Linked DNA regions of Homo sapiens: regions 2, 3, 4, 5 and 6 are each linked to region 1. The links are contacts of gene promoters, found by promoter capture Hi-C in blood cells and fetal thymus (Javierre and others, 2016). All regions are on one chromosome and are shown on one strand. Each heading gives the region's core, a stretch centred on a gene start or on the middle of the fragment in contact. The rest is flanking DNA. Distances are from core to core; before and after follow the strand shown.

The links. The method cuts DNA at HindIII sites, captures the fragments that hold promoters and counts their contacts. A CHiCAGO score of 5 or more calls a contact.
Region 2: the fragment with the promoter of LYSMD3 here is called in contact with the fragment with the promoter of COX7C in region 1 in 9 of 17 cell types (non-activated CD4 T cells, activated CD4 T cells, naive CD8 T cells and 6 more); the score reaches 28.9 in non-activated CD4 T cells.
Region 3: a fragment that was not itself captured here is called in contact with the fragment with the promoter of COX7C in region 1 in 1 of 17 cell types (non-activated CD4 T cells); the score reaches 7.4 in non-activated CD4 T cells.
Region 4: a fragment that was not itself captured here is called in contact with the fragment with the promoter of COX7C in region 1 in 2 of 17 cell types (total CD4 T cells and naive CD4 T cells); the score reaches 7.3 in total CD4 T cells.
Region 5: a contact is called between a fragment that was not itself captured here and the fragment with the promoter of COX7C in region 1, in 2 of 17 cell types (activated CD4 T cells and total CD4 T cells). The highest score is 6.9, in activated CD4 T cells.
Region 6: a fragment that was not itself captured here is called in contact with the fragment with the promoter of COX7C in region 1 in 1 of 17 cell types (total B cells); the score reaches 8.2 in total B cells.

Annotation. Positions count from the first base shown.
Region 1 is chr5:86,616,468-86,619,870 of GRCh38, reverse strand. COX7C (cytochrome c oxidase subunit 7C) reads right to left here and starts at 1,930. Exons shown (of 3, transcript NM_001867.3): 1 at 1,741-1,930; 2 at 375-518. The coding sequence starts at 1,815. The coding sequence ends at 402. RefSeq lists enhancers at 840-1,505, 1,803-1,892, 1,825-2,119, 1,506-2,171, 2,183-2,262. The HindIII fragment of the contact is 5,230 bases long and covers 131-3,403 here.
Region 2 is chr5:90,528,023-90,531,250 of GRCh38, reverse strand. LYSMD3 (LysM domain containing 3) reads left to right here and starts at 1,667. Exons shown (of 3, transcript NM_198273.2): 1 at 1,667-1,803. RefSeq lists enhancers at 1,011-1,270, 1,896-2,396 and a silencer at 1,381-1,630. The HindIII fragment of the contact is 4,420 bases long and covers 570-3,228 here.
Region 3 is chr5:90,508,959-90,512,023 of GRCh38, reverse strand. All of the region lies in intron 7 of POLR3G (RNA polymerase III subunit G), which reads right to left. Among named protein-coding and RNA genes, the nearest start is that of LYSMD3, 19 kb to the left of the region's middle. The HindIII fragment of the contact is 674 bases long and covers 1,378-2,051 here.
Region 4 is chr5:90,486,866-90,490,164 of GRCh38, reverse strand. POLR3G (RNA polymerase III subunit G) reads right to left here. Exons shown (of 8, transcript NM_006467.3): 3 at 2,036-2,165. Among named protein-coding and RNA genes, the nearest start is that of POLR3G, 14 kb to the right of the region's middle. The HindIII fragment of the contact is 5,238 bases long and covers 1-3,299 here.
Region 5 is chr5:83,066,239-83,069,246 of GRCh38, reverse strand. The region is part of intron 1 of TMEM167A (transmembrane protein 167A); the gene reads left to right. Among named protein-coding and RNA genes, the nearest start is that of TMEM167A, 9.7 kb to the left of the region's middle. The HindIII fragment of the contact is 2,006 bases long and covers 688-2,693 here.
Region 6 is chr5:90,382,961-90,386,375 of GRCh38, reverse strand. No RefSeq gene overlaps it. Among named protein-coding and RNA genes, the nearest start is that of CETN3, 25 kb to the left of the region's middle. The HindIII fragment of the contact is 2,597 bases long and covers 305-2,901 here.

The DNA of each region.
Region 1 (3,403 bases), core at 681-3,180:
AAGTGTGAGTTCTGCAACAAGAAACTGCCTGGGCAAGAGTCCTGGTCCACCATTATACTAGTTATGAGATGTTGAACAACTTAACATCTCTGTGTCTCAGATGGGGTTACTATCATCCGCCTCACAAGCTTGCTAGAGAACATGAGATATCGATGTAAAGTGTACCTGATAAGCAGTAGTATTCAATAAACACTGGCCATTATTGAAATATTTTTATATAGGTTTACAACTAGTCTCCACCAATGCCACATCTACACATAACCTCAGGAATCAGCCCTACACAACAATGTATTTGTGTGTGTGTTCTGGGTGATGGGGAAGAGGCTACTTAATAAAAAGGCCTGCTTTAACATGATTAGAAATCCACTAACTACCTGTTAAATGGAGGAACTGAAACATCCTTATGTTTTAAGCAGTTGGTGTCTTACTACAAGGAAGGGTGTAGCAAATGCAGATCCAAAGTACAAACACATCTTAGCTAGTAACGACCACTTGTTTTCCACTGAAAATGGCAAATTCTGTTGGAAAAAAAGAGAAAAAGTAATCGAAATTGAATCTCAAATCATCTGCTTAATAATCAAAATACAAGTATACAGGAAATGCTAGTTATATTTTACATCATCAGGTTAACATATGCCATAAATCATAACATCGTTTTAAACATTTATCTTTCAAATCCTATGACCTTCATCACAAAACACTACATGGCAAGAAATAATCTGGCTTTACTAAGCACTAGGCAATGAATGGTCTTGAGGACTCAAACGTCAAATAGTGAGAAGTTTCTTACTTTAGAAAATCGAAAAAACTACTGTCCTAAGTAGTCACCTTAGAAGATACATGGCAATGTTAAGTGCAATACAGCTCTTTTTTTTTCTTTTTTTTTTTTTTTGAGACGGAGTCCCGCTCTGTCCAGGCTGGAGTGCAGTGGCCCGATCTCGGCTCACTGCAACCTCCACCTCCCGGGTTCAAGCGATTCTCCTGCCTCAGCCTCCCGAGTAGCTGGGATTAGAGGCACACACCACCACGTCCGGCTAATTTTTTTGTACTTTTTAGTAGAGACAGGGTTTCGCCATGTTGGCCAGGCTGGTCTGGAACTCCTGACCTCAGGTGATCCGAACGCCTTAGCCTCCCGATTACAGGCGTGCGCCACCGCACCTGGCCCACAGTTTTTTTTGTTTGTTTGTTTTTCATTACCAAGCACCTTCTCTGGCCTTTATGACTAGGCCTCGTGTGACCCTCCGAGATTGTTACTGCTATGTGGTTTAAGTTATTTACACCTGAGGCCAAACCCAGCCTTAACTGAGGTGAAGGGTTAGTACTTCTAACTTAGGCAGCTAGTTTAAAAAGCCTGTTCCATAACCAGAGGCCCTGATTTCCTCATGATTTTCCAATGACCTTCATTTCGGGTCCGATGACCTCCAGCTCGGATTTAACCAACACACCTACAGCCGTGGCCTCCCGGAGCCATCTCAGGGCTTTCTGCGGGGCGGGGGAGGGGGCGTCAGGTGGCTGATGGAGGCAGGGCTTCCGGATCTACCTGCCCATTCCTTTAGCGGCTACGCGCTAGGATGCCCAGCTTCCTCACTGGTCCTTGGGCTAAGTGGAATGCTAGTCTGCGTCTCAGCCTGGTTTCTGGCTATCATCTCCCACGCCACAGCCCGGAGGCGGCCTTGCAGGTGCGCGAGTCACAGCCAAGCGCCCCCTCCCCCAACGAAGCCGTGCCCCTTACACACTAACCTTCCCAGGGCCCTCCTCATAGTGGCTCCTACGGACCACAGAGGTTGTGAACCTCCGGATGCTCTGGCCCAACATACCGCTGCTGGAAGCTCTGCGAAAGGCGCAGAGAATGAGGACAGATGAAATGGCGGCACCTCACCAAGACCTTTTTTTTCACGACCTTGTTCCCCGGTGCGCAAGGACTGAAAAGAAAGATGGGAAATGGGGCGGAGCCTTGAGGAAACGCGACAAAGCGGAAATCGCCCTGGATTGTGGGAATTGTAGTTCAGACCATTGCGGAGCCTTATCAGCCCCCGAAGGATTGTGGGAAATGTAGTTTCGCGCCAGGCTTAGGTCTAGGATTCCTGGGGCCTGTTACCGGAAACGATTTTATTGAATCAAGTGAAGCAGTTTCACCCCGTATACTCTAGTCTGTTGAAAAGGACAATAAACCCATCCCTTTTCTCTTCTTTCTTTCTTTTTTAAAAATAAAGTATATGCTAGGTGTCAATGATTTCGAGGACTTTTGCCAATGCTGAGAGATATGTGCTAATGATCCTAGCTGAAGAAACAAAGCATAAACACAAGTAATCAAACAACGTGCAGCACAAAGGACTTCAGAGAGAAAACTGAAATGCTAAGGGAATGATCACTAAAGATAATGGGAATCGAATAAAAAAGAAGGAAGAACAAAGGGCAGGGAAAACTCAAGTCTGGTATGAGTACAGCATGTGTGAGGAGTAGAAGGGAAAAGTGGCCTCTGACACCTGGAGCTAGCCTGGACTAGGAACTGGTGTCCGCCTGATGAACGTACACAATTTCAGCAAGCATTAGCATCCAACAAGACCACTCTGACAGTGTTCATTAAGAAAAGAATATGATCACTGTGTAATCACATCTGAACACAGATAAAACATTGTCCAAGCCACGAAAATGACCGGACATCACCCTATCTGGTTTAATTTGATGACTTCTGCTTCTTTACCAATTACAATCTTAGCCTTGATCTAGCCTTTCTTCCTCCTAAGATTTGGTAAGGTAGCCAATATTAGGAGAAAAAAATCCCAAATCCAATAAGCATTTTCTAATATTTTACAGAGAACCCTTACTGCAATGAATAATAAACCCCGTTTGTCAATTACATGTGTGCTTCTGGTGGTCTTTGACCAGAAGGTATTGAGAAGAAACCAGTGATAAATGAACCTGGGAAAGTGGTGTTAGGTTAGATTGTGAAAGGCCCTGGTAACCTAAATGTTATGTTATTCATCTGTGGGGGAGTGTATATTGCCTCACGTGTCTCATTTATATAGCATTAGGAAACAATTCCAATAAGACCTAAGGTTTGCTTTGAAAAGGGCATAACATATATGCTCTTTTCGTCTTTTTTTTTTTTTTTTTTTTCAGTTTTTGGAAGAGAACAACCATGCCCCTCCCCCCCAAAAAAACACTTAAAAAAAACACTTAAATTCATATTTTGTTTCAACAAGTAGCTTCTTTTTGAGTAGGGGTTCATGAAATGCATCATAACTGGTGTCCTCTACCACCTAATTTATAGAAGTTATGTGACATTCCATTTTTTTTTAACATTCCGTTCACTGCCTTTACATATTAAAGAATTCTGATTTAACTATAATTGAGAAACTTTTTCACACTTAATATTTCTAGATTACACTTTTCAATCTAG
Region 2 (3,228 bases), core at 418-2,917, 3.9 Mb before region 1:
TATTCTAATAATAAAATATAATCCTATTCTTCCATTTTTATAAAAAGTTTAATATTTGCATCCTTGTTAAATACAAATAACTATTCAAGAGCATGCAGATATCTTTGAGAAAGTTATTTATATGAAGGATACAGGTATCGGTCCTATAGAAGTGCTTGAAATCTATCACTTTGGCTCTCACATTAATTCCGCTGTCTATTGACATTAAAATAAGAAAAGTAACCTATAGACAGAAAGAAGGTTGTATTCCCATTAACATTCATGAGGGCTAAGCAGCCGAAGTCCTACATATCAAGCAGGGAATATATCCTTTGTCTGCTGATGAGAGAACGTCTCAGTGATAAATGGTTACAGACAGGGGTGTCATGAGGGCAACAACACACAGAACAATTCAGACAAACTTTTTAAAAAAGTCTTCTCCTGCAGTTTTTTTTTGTGGCGCTGGGAAGCACAGTGCCTATCCCTGCTAATAAAAGAAAACTATTGCAATGCAAAACTCCTAACCTTTGCAGAGGCACTTACCAGAAAACCAAAAACATACTCTTTGAAAAACAATTTAAAACCAAGCTTCAAAGGCTTTCTAATGTATAAATATTCAGACATTCTGAAAAGCACTGCTCTGCACCCTGCACCCCAGCTATTTGTGCCTAAAATGGATATTGTCGTAACAGTTAGCATGGTTGTCAAAGTGCAACGTCTCTAATATCAACACTGAGAGACATCAGACTCATTAAAATGCTTTACATTCATTAATTAGGTTGGTGCAAAAGTAGTTGCGGCTTTTGCCAAAGTCATACATAAATTCAAACACATTATGATACTCATTTAACACATTTGTGATAAAAATCATGTATGAAGTCATGAGTTTATTTAATAAGCTAATATTCCATAGAGTCCAATGGTGACTACCAATGACTCAGTTAATTTTCAAACCAAAATAAGTTAGATTACAATTTGTTGACTCCCTTGACTCCTCGAGCCAGGGAAAACATTTCCTGGGGCCTGACTCTAGGTGGCTCACTTCCCTCACCTAAAAACAGGAAGGGTGAGACAACCCCCTCCAACCCTCGTCCTCGGTCCCCCAAGGATTTCTCTCCAGAATTCTGCCTCTTCTGCAGCAGTCTGGAGTCTTCAGCATGAAAAGGGTAACAAACATGGCGCAATTTTCTGAAACCGTGATGTCAACAGTGTTTTTGAGGTGTCCTTTCCCACCCTAAAGAAAATTCGAGATGCACAGCAAGAAAAAAATGCAAGACAGCTCCCCGACACATCCTGAGCCACGCCTCGTCCTCAGGGTGCACCCGACAGTCTCTGCCAGCGCAGTGTGGACGCTGGACAAAGACGCAGCCAGTAGGTCGCTGGTGGTCGCGGGTTGGATCCGCTGACTTGGCCACCAAATCTTTTCCTCGGGGAGTGAAGCGGCACGGAAGGAGCGGAGTCAAGGGCGGGGCTGGGGATTGGACCCGCCCCCGGGCCCGGGGATTGGACCCGCCCCCGGGCCCCGGAGGAGTCCCTGCGCCTGCGTGCCGGGCGTGGACCTGTGGTTGGACTCCCCCGTTTTGGGCTGCCCTCCGCGTCCTCCCCCGCCCCTTCCCACCTCCGCCCACTTGACGCGATGACGCATCTCAGGTTTGCGGACGTGGCGGCGGCGTACGGCCCGGAAGGCGGAGACGTTGGCGGCAGAGGCGGAGGCGGACGGGGTCAGCCCAAAGCAGAGGCTCGGCCATGAACTTACCCGGGACAGCGGCGGCGGCGGACCTTTTGGCCATCTTCTCGCAGAGTGCTCCCTGCTAACGGGGACAGGTAAAGATGGTGGCAGGAGGTGAGGGTAGCCCGGTCCAGGAGGGCGGGGTTGAGCCCCAGCTGCGTCCTCACGGGAGGCGCTGAGCCTCGGCCACAGGTGTGGTGGGGGCTGCAGGGCCGGGCTCGGCCCGTGTGGCGGACACCCCCGAGACAGGGAAGAACTTCCAGACCAGCCCTGCCAGGCCCTCTTGTCACACTGTCGGGGAAACTGAGGCTCAGAGGAAGGACGCCTACCTGCTGGATTACCTGGGCAGCTAATTTCCCACCCAAACACAGCATTTCTCCCACGACTTTATGTTGGCGTGAAATATTCGCTGACGGCATCTTGTCACATCGTTCAAGTGTCATGCTGTGACAGAAGACTCTGAGACGTAATCTTCGCTGACGATAGCAGGGAAAGAAAAACTTGACGTGTGGAATACAGAGGGAGGAGGTAGTTAAGTTTTAAAAAACAAAATTGTCCCTGGCAGCGGATAGGGTGCCTTTGATTCTGTCCCTTTGCAGCTTTAACTTGTGCCCTGTGACCCTCTTATTGCACCTTGCTTAGTTAAAGAAGGTCAAGGCGAAACACCCAGCAGCCATTCTACAGTACGAAGGTGTTTGGGAAACCGTTTTCAGTTACAGACTGAGCTGAAGAATGCTTTAACACTGTTTTGTGGCCCCTCGTAATCTAGGTAGCACGCAGGCTTGTTCCAAGTTTCTGAAAGGGAGTTCGTGCCTTTTTCCTGCTCTAAGAGAATTAAGAGAGGTGAATAGAATTGAGCCAGATGACTTAAATATTATGTATTTTCTAATCTCTGAGTAGTAGACTGGAGTGATCGCCTGGGTCAGTCTGTTCACTTCGGTTGAAGACACAGCCAGTTCTTGATCATTCAGAATACCCAGATTTGTAACACGATAGTCAGCTGCCTGCATTTCATTATAAAGGGGAGTGGAGAGATAGTGAGACAGGTGAAGTTCTGACCTTTAAATTATATTTAGAAATATATCGTGGAGAGAGGTTGATAGAAACAAGTATCTAAAATGGCTTTGGGGCATTGCTTAGTGATTTTCAGTTAGCTGCACTACTAAGCCAATTTTGAAGTTCTAAGTACAAATTATTAGGGTGAAACTGTCTAACAAGACACATAAGTAGGTCGGTATAGCCAAGTGTAAATTGCTGTATATTAAGTCTTAACTTTTTTGATCATGGATGCCTTTTGAGAATATGAAGCAATGAAAATTCTCCCCAGAAAAATATACATATGTATAAAATTTGCCTGGAATCTACAGGATTCAAAGACATTCCCTAGGTTAAAGACACAAGATTAAAAAAAGACCTGGTTAAATGAGTGGAAATAAAACTGTTATCCTTGGAGGAAAAGATGTGGTCATGACTTCAAAACTGCTTTTGAGATATAAAATGTGATAGTTTTCTTTAGTTTC
Region 3 (3,065 bases), core at 465-2,964, 3.9 Mb before region 1:
CGTTAAAATGAATGAGTAGTAAGAAAATATTCCAGGCCTAAAAGTCTCTGCTTTTTATCTGCTTCAAAAACACAACAGTTTTCACTTGTGTTTACCTGTGCCGCTTTCTTCCTTAAGACCACCACCTTCCACTCTTGTCAGGCACTAACTAGCTAAGAGAACATGAAGGGTTGCCCATACCATCTCAATAGGATAATATAGCTACTAACACATTACAGCTTACTGGGATGATACATAGTTTAGTTAGCTAAACCACTAAACACTTACCCAAAAAATGCACAGACAAGAAAAAAAGCCAGTTTACATTAACATCCATTAGACTACACCAGTACTGAGATTTTTAGTCATAAAACATAACTAAGCATAAGCCAGAAAGACTTTTACTTCCTATTAAAAAAAAAAAAAAAGGCATGATACCAAACCAAATCCAAAAGATGCCTATATTATATTCTATCTAGGACCTCTTAGTTTCTTTTTCTTGTGGCTGAATAAGACTATCATCCATGCAAATAACTCAGAAAATATCTGTGCTTTCTATCAAAAATTCAAATATTACTTTCTTATTTATTTTTCCGGGCCTCCAGTATCTTACAATCAAAAATCCACTTTGGATATAAATTAAACCTAAGAGTTATTAATCAGTTGCAATGTATGGATTGTATTTGGATTCTGTTTGGAACAAACAAACTTTTTGAGACAACCAAGAAAATTCAATACTGGCCAGATATTTGATGAAATTAAGGAATTATATTTCATTGTATGGGGTGTTATAATGATACAGTGATGTTGTTAAAGAGCCCTTATTTTTGAATCCATACTGACATATTTGTGGATGAAATGATACGATGCCTAGGATTTTCTTTGGAATCCAAGGCACATGGGGCACGGGGAATGGGATGGGTGGACAGGGAGGGATTGGGTAGATGAATGAGTGGTTGAAAGATTAGCTATGAATTGACCATTGTTAAAGCTGAGTGATAAGACCATGGGTGTTTCTTTTACTAGTCACTACATTTTTGCACATGATTGAGATCTGCTATAATAAGAAATTAATGTCCACATCTCTACTATCTATAGTAAGAAATACAGACTACTCTCAAAAGAAAGTCTCCTATCAATTTTACTAATTTTTTTCCAAAGTTTTTTTTTTTTTTTAAATCTGGATAGTGGGATTTTTAATATATTTACATAATGCAAGAAAGGTAACATGCATTATTCACTGTATATGCATTCTTTAGATAGTTATCTCATTACTTTTTCTTCCCTAGATACTTTAAGTTTCTGCATTCAGCTAAGACCATTCCCATCTCTGGAAAGTTGGCCTGGCTTTTCTGGTGCCAAAAAAATTTGGCAATATTTAGACACCTGGGTGAAGCTTGGGGCCTGTGTACCAGGGGAGGGTGGCATGGTTGAGAGTTCAAATGAGGTCTCATTGTAAAGGAGACCTTTGGCAAGAACACTTGTGTAGAAATAAAAGTAAGCCGATTTGTACATAAAGTGGAGATGAATAAGGAAGGGATACTCTAGTATTCCAAATCAAGCATATGTCACTTGTGTTTTAGACATGAGTACCTCCTCCAAGTTCTGTTTAAGTGATTCAAATTTGGTAATTGTGTGACGTTAGTAATCTTTTTTTTTTTTCTTTGAGACGCAGTCTCACTCTTGTCACCCAGGCTGGAGTGCAGTGGCGCGATCTCGGCTCACTGAAAGCTCTGCCTCCCTGGTTCACGCCATTCTCCTGCCTCAGCCTCCCGAGTAGCCGGGACTACAGGCGCCTGCCACCACGCCCGGCTAATTTTTTGTATTTTTAGTAGAGACGGGGTTTCACCGTGTTAGCCAGGATGGTCTTGATCCTGAACTCAGTGCAAGCAGACATTGTCAACAGAGCATTGCAAATGCCAGTCTTGTCTAGAGTATTGACCACACAAACTAGAACCTATAGCACCACCACCCTACTACCCCCATGGCAGTGTGACAACCAAATATATCTCCAGACACTACCAAATATCCTTTCAAGAGTATTGAAAACCACTGGTTTACAGCAATAAGCTTTCAAATATGACCCAAACTTGGCTCTTCCATTCAAAGCAACTGAGCTTTCTAAAATATAAACATGATTATACCATTCCACTGTTTAAAACCCCTCAATGCTCCCCACAGTACTCAGGATAAAGTCAAATTTCTCAGCTTGACATTCAAAGTCCTTAATGACCTGCTCATCTCTCCAGCTTCATCTCTCAACACAAGCCCACTTAACACCCTCTAGTCCCGCCATACCGATTTATCTGGTCAGTTAAATTAAGAAGCTACACTCCCATCACCTGCAAGCCTCTCTCCATGTTCTTTTTTCTCCCTGCAAGTGTCCACTCCATTCCATGTTCCTATCTTGATCTGATTAGCTCTTCAGATCACCTAAATTGTCTTCTTTGAAATATCATCTTTGATATGCCTAAAATAGACTTTGGTGTGCCCACAGCATCTCTTATATGCCGCTATAGCATCCGGTACTACTGTATCACAGCATTATTCACTGTATATTAACTGTTACCTTTTTTGTCTCTCTAGTAATTTCCCTGAGAGAAGAACTGTATCTTATCTTCATATTCCCATTGCCTAGTACAATTCCAAGCATATACTTAGTGTACACTTACTATAGGTTGAATGAAAAAGAACTGAGGAGTTACATGTTTATACAGGGTAACTATGGGGAGGGATGCAATCAGAGAGATTACAGCAAGAAAAAGAAGCCCGAGGGAAGAGCCCTGAAGAATACTGACATTTAAAGACTAGAAAGAACTCCAGAGACCATAAAAATGTACCAGAAATAGGAGAAAAACGAAAAGCATTATGTAACAAAAATTAAGGGAAGCAACCATGTTTGTCTAAGACTTGGCAATTAGCACAATGCCTGGCATATAGAAGATGCATATAATTGCTGTAAATTGTTGAATTTAAATAAAGGAAATCATAAATATATATATGTTGCCCAGGCTGGAGTGCAGTGGCACGATCTCAGCTCACTGCGACCTCTGCTTTCTGGGTTCAAGTGATTCTCCTGCCTCAGC
Region 4 (3,299 bases), core at 128-2,627, 3.9 Mb before region 1:
ATCCCTGTCTAAAACACTCACATAAATGCTTTAATTATATGATATACTTTTTTTTTTTGAGACAGAGTCTCACTCTGTCACCCAGGCTGCAGTGCAGTGACATAATCTCAGTTCACTGCAACCTCCACCTCTCGGGTTCAAGCAATTCTCCTGCTTCAGCTTCCTGAGTAGCTGGGATTACAGGAATGCACCACCATGCCTGGCTAACTTTTGTATTTTTAATAGAGACAGGGTTTTCCCATGTTGGCCAGGCTGATCTCGAACTCCTGACCTCAGGTGATCTGCTTGCCTCAGCCTCCCAATGTGCTAGGATTACAAGAGTAAGCCACCGTGTCCAGTCTGATTTGACATACTTTTAAATTAGACATGTGCTTTAATAACAACCACATTCACCTAAGTGCATCTGTGTCATAGAGAAAAGATCAATTTTAAAAGCACTAAAGTATACCCTGCATTACTATTTTTTCTAATAAGAATGAATACTGATTAGTTCATTTGGTCTTACTTTTTAAAATCTTTAAAATGAAAAGTTTTATTTTAGAACTCAAACAGACGAAAGCATGCAACATCATCATGAGAGTTAAAAATTTCAGTATTAGGCCGGGCATGGTGGCTCACGTCTGTCTGTAATCCCAGCACTTTGGGTGGCTGAGATGGGCAGACCACTTGAGGTCAGGAGTTCAAGACCAGCCTAGCCAACATGGTGAAACATCTCTATTAAAAATACAAAAATTAGCCGGGCATGGTGCTGTGCGTCTGCAATTCCAGCTACTCAGGAGGCTGAGATGTGAGAATCACTTGAACCCAGGAAGCGGAGGTTGCAGTGAGCCGAGATTGTACCACTACACTCCAGCCTGGGTGACAAGAGTGAGACTCCATCCCATTTCCAAAAAAAAAAAAAAAAAATTAAGTATTTTTGAGATAAAATATTTCTTATCAAACCATTATATAACTTAAAGCAGCTATGTTTTGAGAATTAAATGAATTTGTCTAAAATGCTTCCTATAATTATAAGCACATGCTAAGATCATTACATAAGGCTTCCTTTTTTGACTCAGCCAATTCAAACTATTCTAGAGAGAGAGGAAAAATGGAATGCATTTTTAATACGAATGGAATGAGATGACACTACGAATTTCTCATGTTTTAATGATGTTGTTTTGAGAACTCAAAGATGATATCAGTCTCTCTAATCTCAACAATCAAGGGCAGAAAGTGAAAAATCAATATAGTACTGCTGTGCTAAACAGCTACTCAGGAATGGTTTCCTTTCCTATAAAACCACTTCCCACTTCTAGCCTGAGACTGTTGAGCCCTCTCCAACTATAATGTTTCCTTTCTTCCCTAAGCAGCACCAATGAATACATATTTTACATCATATCAAACACCTAAATGATAAACCAAACAAAATTAAGTCTCAAAAATTTTTTTAACCTAAATATTAAATAATCAGAGACATGCATAAAGGTTTATGTATAATGATAACAATCACGGCATTATATATACAAGCAAAAAACTGAAAATAATATTTAAAAAGCAGGAAATTAGTTACAGTTAATAATAATATATCCACAGAGTAGACTACCAGTCATTAAAAGTCATGTTTTCCAAGAATAATAAGGATATGTGAAAATGCTAATATGCTACTGAGTGAAAAAAGGAAGATACAAAGTAATGTGAATCTAATTTTGTAAAGAGAATATACATGCATAAGAAAAAATCTGGAATATATACTAAAATATTAATAGTGGTTCTCTAGACATAAGAATGGGTAATTTTTACTTTTTAAAATTTTCCTGTTTTTCATAATTTTCACTGAACATATAAAATTATAATGAAAGATATTTCTAAAAATAAAATATCAAAAAGTTTAAAGTATTTTTTCTGTTAAAGCAACATAAATAGCTTTTTCAAAGTAGTTGATAATTTTTTATTGAATCGAATCAATCAACATTAAATGATTATATATCTTGTGCTTAAACACTGTTTCATCTGTATACATTAAGCCACATAATCAAAGACTCCAATACAGTACCTTGTCTTTCTTCAGGTGTTTCAATAAAATAAGGCATTCTTTTCATTGTTTCTCTCAACTCCTGTTTCAAAGCCAGCATATATTCTTCACCTTCTCCTGTTTTCAGTGGCACTGGTTTATAATCTGTATCCTGTTTAAATTAAGAGACAAAGATTTTTTTCAAATCAATTATGTATTTTAATATCCCTTTTATCTGTATTATAGAAAACAGCAGTTTTATTGAAATACTATGTTTTACAGGCACTAAGTTTTACAACCAACTTAAAAGATGAACTTCTGTAGTCTATTTAACCTGTTAACCCATTTCCTACTTTGCTCTTCTATTAGAGGTAAGAAAGATGCGTAATTTTCCTATTGGCCCTGAAAACTACACCAATAATCATTTTGCCAAACAGTCTGTTGACCTATGTGATTATCTACTTTAAAAATTAAAGTACCAGGCCGTGCATGGTGGCTCACGCCTGTAATCCCAGCACTTTGGAAGGCCGAGGCAGGTGGATCACGAGGTCAGGAGATCGAGACCATCCTGGGTAACATGGTGAAACCCTGTCTCCATTAAAAATACAAAAAATTAGCCGGGCATGGTGGCGGGCACCTGTATTCCCAGCTACTCGGGAGGCTGAGGCAGGAGAATGGTGTGAACCCGGGAGGCGGAGCTTGCAGTGAGCCAAGATCGCGCCACTGTACTCCAGCCTGGGTGACAGAGCTAGAGTCCGTCTCACAAAAAAAAAAAAAAAAAAAAAAAAAAAAATTAATGTACCAAAAAAAAAAAGAAAAACTAAGGTACCCAAATGAGAGCAGCTGCTTTAGGTTCTTATTAACCTCAGCTAGTGGTGGTATTATTGGAAAAAAATAAATAAATAAAAAAGCAGCAGCTATCATTTAGTAAGTGGTTGCTATGACTACAATATACTCAATATCCAACATCCAGTATCTCATTGAAAGGGCTACCAATATTTATCCTTTTACAGTGAAGAAATTGAGAAGTGAATAAATGGCAAGATGGAGTTTGAAGCTGCATTTCAAGTTTTAAAAATTATACACACACATACATATACACAAATACGCGTTTGTATGTGTGTATATATTTACACAAATATGTTCATTAACAAGTGGATCTCCAGGGTACCTAGTAAAGACATTTCTGATTTCAGAGGATAAAGATAAGGTACATTTTCAAAATTTGATTAGGAATGTATACATTCATGCTGCAACTACTTATTGAGTACTCAACATGTTTAGACTATGGAGGATACCATGATAA
Region 5 (3,008 bases), core at 441-2,940, 3.6 Mb after region 1:
TGGCAGGCTAATGTCCGTAAGTTAGAAACACACTTTTGACCAGAGTCTGAGTACATCTAAAAGACTTACCACCTAAGATTATTTGTTTTAAACTTTAGAGGCTTTAAACCCCCAGAACAAAGTTGTATATATCATATATTTCATACTTGTAAATGGTTTTCTTTTGTAAATGGCTTCACACACAAACGTATATACACACTCTACTTTCCTAATAGGCATGTTTTTAAGTGCCTTTTTATCTTCTATTATGAAAACATTCAAACATAAAGAGGTAGAAGCCTATAATGAACCCTCATATTCTCAGCATTTTATCATCAACCCTACCCCTCTCCCACCACACATGCACTGGATTATTTAGAAACCAATCCTGAACATTATATCATTTAAGCATGTTTTCTTTAAAAACACATTTGGAGAAGGAAAGAGAACACATTACAAAGTCATGAATTTAGATACTGCATTAGGAAAATGATAAACCTACTTTGAAGATTTGTTTTCCAACCATTTTACTGTAGGAATCTTTTGCTTAAAATACAGTAAGATTCTCATTATTCCCTGAACGTGCCAATGACTTTTTCTGTAGGGTTTTTTTCCCACATTTTTTTTTCTCTTCTGGAGCTTGCTATTTGCCCATCTGAATGGTGCCCTTTCAAGGTTTGACTCCGTTCCTGCTTTCTACATGAAGCTTTTCCTGACTTTTTCTTACAAAAATGGCATTTTTTGTCTGCATAACTCACTTCCACATTCAACAATGAGTTACTATTTACTTTTTAAAGTACATGCTCTGTTTTCACTTGATTACTTGATTATAACTGCTGTGTGCCTCAGTCTCATGTATAAAATACAGGTAATAACAATCATGAATAAAATTCAGGTAATATTTACCCCAGATACATGAGGATAACATAAAACAAGTACTCAGTGAATATCAGTAATTGCTATTGTTAGCCATAAACTCCTGTAGGGAAGGAATCATACCATGTGCCTTTTTTTTAATCCCCACTGCCTCATTTCTCAGACAAAGTGGATACCAAATACACATTTAGTTATGTTGGGAGGAAATCTGCTTTATTTTCTATGAGGTCATTATCCAATATTATTTATTAATATATTCACATACATATTCAAAATATGACCTTTGAAAGATAAGCATTGTGAGATACCATGCTTTTTATCTACAATTGATCATGAGCTAATTCATTGATTTATGTTATAAAATGTGTATCACTGGCTTTCACAGGTTTAAGATTAAAACCCAATTTAATTAAAACCCAAGATACATTAAATTTTATCTTTGTTATATCTATGAAAAAATAATGCATAGAAAAACAAGTATTAAACTGGTAATTACAAATCATTTTTGTCTTTTTCAGACCATAAAAGTGTCACTTAGACAATTTGAGAAATCTAGAAAAGTTGAGAATTAGATTAAAAACTATCTAGAGATGGCTCACGCCTGTAATCCCAGCACTTTAGGAGGCCAAGGTGGGCAGATCGCTTGAGATCAAGAGTTTGAGTCCAGCCTGGCCAACACAGCGAAACCCTGTCTCTACTAAAAAAAAAAAAATACAAAATTTAGCCAGGCGTAGTGGAGCATGACTGTAATCCTAGCTACTGGGGAGACTGAGGCAGGAGAATCACTTGAACCCACGAGGTGGAGGTTGCAGTGAGCCAAGATCCCACCACTGCACTTCAGCCTGGGCAGTAGAGCAAGACTCTGTCCCTCCACCCCCCACCAAAAAACTATCCACAGATAATCACAGCATTTTCACACTTTCTTTGCATAAAAGTTTACATACCTTAAGATGTGCTGTCTGAAATCTTTGATCCCCTTTTGCCTACTGCTTAGCATTGTGCATAAGCACTTTTTGTCCTTGAGAATATTGGTAAATAATGTATATAGTTTTTTAATTTTTTCAGTAGTTTGCATGTATTTATCATAAAAATATAGAAAAGATTCAAATGACATTGGAACAGTTTCTAGTGTCCATTTTTTTGTTTTTAAGATTCTCCTGGCTATTCTTGCCTTATTTTTTCCATATGAACTTCAGAATTAGTTGTCTGTTTAAAAGATAACTTGTTGGTATTGGGTTCACTTTAAATTTATAGGTTGTCTTTACAATGTTGCCTTCCAATATAAAAATCTGGCATACCAGGTTTCTTAATCCATGTTATGTTGCTATTTAAAAAAAAACTGAAATTGGGTAATTGGTTAAGAAAAAAGGGTCACTTAGCTCTCAGTTGTGCAGGCTAAGAGTAGTAGGGCTTGGCCCTCCTGGGAAGGGCTTTTATGTTGCATCACAACATGGCTGAGAAGGTCAAAGGGGAAACAGACCTGGTGAAAAGGAGGGAGGAGCATCATGGCTTTATAACAACGTGCTCTCTCCGGAAAGAATTCATTTCTTGGAAAACTAATCCAGTCTTGTGAGATCTCACTAATGAGAAGAGCACCCTGACATTCATGGGAGATCTACCCCCCACCACCCCGTCCCCAAACCCAAACACCTCCCACTAGGCCCCACTTCCCAACACTACCTTACTGGGGATCAAATTTCAATCTGAGCTTTGGTAGGGATGAAAAACCATTTCTAAACCATAGCAACAGTCTCTTCTACTTTTATGTTCTTCCATATGTTTTAAGATTTTGTCAGTTTTTTTCTTTGATGCCAATGTTGCACATTTCTTGTTAAGCTTATTCCTAGATATTTTAGCTGTTCGTTCTGGATGCTATCTTTTTTCCATTGTCTTTCTCCTGAATGATAATATGATTATGAAGGCTATTGATTTATATATTTTAATTATGTACCCAGCCACCTTACTCAATTTCCTTAAGATCTATAACTGTTTTTCACTAAATTCTTTAGGACTTTTCAAGTAAGCACTCAGCCGCAAGTACCAATTTTGTGTAACTAAGTTTTCTCATGAGTCATTCTTTGTTTCATTCCTGATTTTTTTGTTTGTTTTTTAGAAGGTGCCTCTAAGTTTACTAAACAAGCATATTGCTGGCT
Region 6 (3,415 bases), core at 354-2,853, 3.8 Mb before region 1:
TTACTCAAATTAAGATAGTGACTTGGAAAGAGAAAAATAGAACAAAATATATTTTCAATCTCCACCAGGGGGACCTATTGCTGCAACAAAAAAATGAATCTGAGGAAGAACATTTGTTTTACACAACAGTTACATGATATTATAGTTTTATTTTTTAAGTGTATACACCTATTTGAAAAAAAGTGCTTTTTATATTCCACATAATGGTATTTCTTGTGGTATAATTTTATTTTTACATTATATCTAGTAATTAAAATAGAAAAATAAACAAAATATGAGGTTTTCTTGATTTGTTAGTTAAGCTTTTTAAAAGTAGAATAAACTATTAAGTGAAAATATAAATTCAGTCTTTATTTGAGAAGAATTTCTGTTTAATATATCTACAAGATTACCTAAAGAAAGCAGAGAAAACTCTTTTTCATGAAAACATATCTTCCTAAATTTTGCGAATTCAGTATGTCTTATCCCCTACTCCACTGGCTTTTGTCTGGGATTTAAAGGCTTATAGTTTTTATGAAACATTTTCATACTATACTATTTATAATTACAAAATAGGTAAGTTCTATAATCACAAAGTTAGTAAATCTATCCTTTTGCCTCACTTCTAGTTGTGAGACATTCTATTTTCTGCTTTGAGATTATGCATGCTTTCTTAGCATCAAGTGCTATTTTATTTATTTATAGTCATATATATCTTAATATTCCTTATTTTTTACGGTTCAAATATTCTCTTTCTGAGAGCTGTATAATTTTCTAAATTCTAGATGTTTTTATCTGACTTATATGACTACCTCCTTTCTGAGTTCATTGATTAGAAGTGATTTATATTAATGGGTGTCAGTGGTGAAGAAAGTTTACCAACACTGTGGGACAGATATTACCATGTCCATTTCTCAGATCAGGAAATTGACGCTGAGAATGATTACGTTACTCAGTTAATGTAATGTTTTCTACCATATGATTCTAAGCCCAATATTATTAAACACACAGTTAATTTTAACACATCTCAGATATGAGCAAGCTATTGTTCTTGACATACTTCCTCAACCTAGACCAGATTAGTGAACTCATAATTTGAGTGTTAATGGGCCTTCTATCCCAGACATATTCTTCTGCGTGATAAATTCCTTGTTCTAAATAACTTATTTGGATAATTTTCCTTGTCCTGAATAAACACCAACCTACATAATACCATACTTTAGATGTAGCAAGAGATTTTTAAATATATATACTGCAATTATACATTTGGCCAAGCAAGGTTGTAATGATGCCTTTGAACTTTTGGTTACATGTACACACACATACAAACATAAACACACACACTACTTTTTTCTCCAAATAAAATTATTAACTCTACCTTATGAAGAACTGAATAAAGTTCAATAATAATGAAATAAAAATTTACATTAGACATATGAAATCACTCATATTAATGAAATGCAAAATTAAAGTACACCGAGGTACCACTTTTACTTATTCAATTATTTTTGTAATATACTCTGTTAAATGCAAGGAGGAGGGGAAATAAACCAGAATCCTTTCACTGCTGGCATTACAAATTGGTACAACTCCCACAGAGGGCAATTGGTAACATTACAAATAACTACACCACATGATCTAACAGATCTCTTGGAATTTAGCCTATGGATATACTTGTACACATGCAAAATTGTTTATGTTTAAGACTATTCATTATAGGTTTTTTATAGCGAAAATTGGAAACAAATCAAATGTCCCTTGTTGGGAGGCTAAATAATTGGAATACTATACAGCTGTTAAAAAGAATGAGCAAGAGGTCTATACTGATATGCAAAGAGCTTCAAGCAATATTAGATGAAAATGGCAAAATGCAGAACAGTCTTATAGTAATCTATTTGTGTAAAAAAGGAGGAATAAGAATATATATTTATATTTCATTTTATATACATAAAGAAACTCTTGAAGAACACATAGAGAACTAATAAAAGTGATTACCTGCTTGGGATTGGAGGCAAAGAGGCAACTGGTGACAGACAGGGGTAGGAAAGACACTTATTTTCTTTTGCTAGAATATTCTACCTATATTTTAAAAAGTGTGTGTGAGAGAGAATGAGAGAGAGGGAAAGAGAAAATGTGTAAGTCGAGTTTAAGTAGACACGTATACTTTTACTCCCTAAGATGACAGTAAAGGGATATTTTTAAAAAGGTACATACCCACAAGGACAAAAAGAATGGAGGAGAAAGAAATAGCAAAAATTTTGGAAGCTAGAAGGCAGATGAATGAATAATATTGACTCAGCAAACTTAGAAAGCCAAATTCTTTGTTGCTGACTTGGGAAAAGCTGAGAAACTTTTACACTGCAGAATATCCAGAAGGTTCAGGAATTGGCATTTCCAGGTACCTCTGAAAATGAGATTGAAAATGGGGCTAAAAATAGGAAGATTGGTTGAAAGTTTCCTTAAGAGGCCATTAAATAAATCCCCAATTGTACAGGTGGGCAACTGCCTTTACCCAACTTGATGGGGTTAGTCTCCAAAGCAGATAGAACAAAACCTCTCTGGATTGACATGCATCAAGAAGAGTAGTGGTGGTAGGGTGGGGTATTGCGGAGGTCGGGAGGAGCAATACTTGCTGAAAAAAGGGATTAATTGAACATTTGCATATTGAATATTCAGACTCCTCTCTCTAATCTTTCTTTCTCCACTTAGCTCTCAGAGTGTCCACAATAAGTCTAGGCAAAAGATGCTTCTTTGGGAAATCTGAGCAGTCAAGAGAAAAGACAACTGAAGAACCAATGAAATGACCAGCCAGAACCCCCTATAGTATAGATCACAGTTGACAGGCTCCAGGTCGCATTCAGAGCTTTCAGATAACTTTTTAGTACTGCACAAAAAGTTAAAACTCACCAAGTGAGGAAAGCTTTATTTAAAATTTTTCTTTTTGAGATGGAGTCTTGCTCTGCTGCCCAGGCTGGAGTGCAGTGGAGTGATCTTAGCTCACTGCAACCTCCACCTCCTGGGTTCAAGCAATTCTTGTGCCTCAGCCTCCCCAGTAGCTGGGATTACAGGCATGCACCACCATGGCTGGCTAATATTTGTATTTTTAGTAGAGACGTGGTTTCACCATGTTGGCCAGGCTGGTCTCAAACTCCTGGCCTGAAATGATCCCCCTGCCTTGGCCTTCCAAAGTACTAGGATTACAGGCATGAGCAACCGTGCCTGGCCATGAAGAAAACTTTTAAAATAAAAGCTAAAGACCGTAGTGGAGGGGTCATAGCTGAGTGACTAAAATGTGCTACCTTGCCCGAGGTTACATCCTTTCCCCAGAAGGAGCCCATATTCAAAGGCTGGTCTGTTAGGATGGGCCTTAATCCAATCTGACTGTTATCCTTGTAAGAAAAGATTAGTCCTGAATTGCAATGAGTACAGAGGGAGG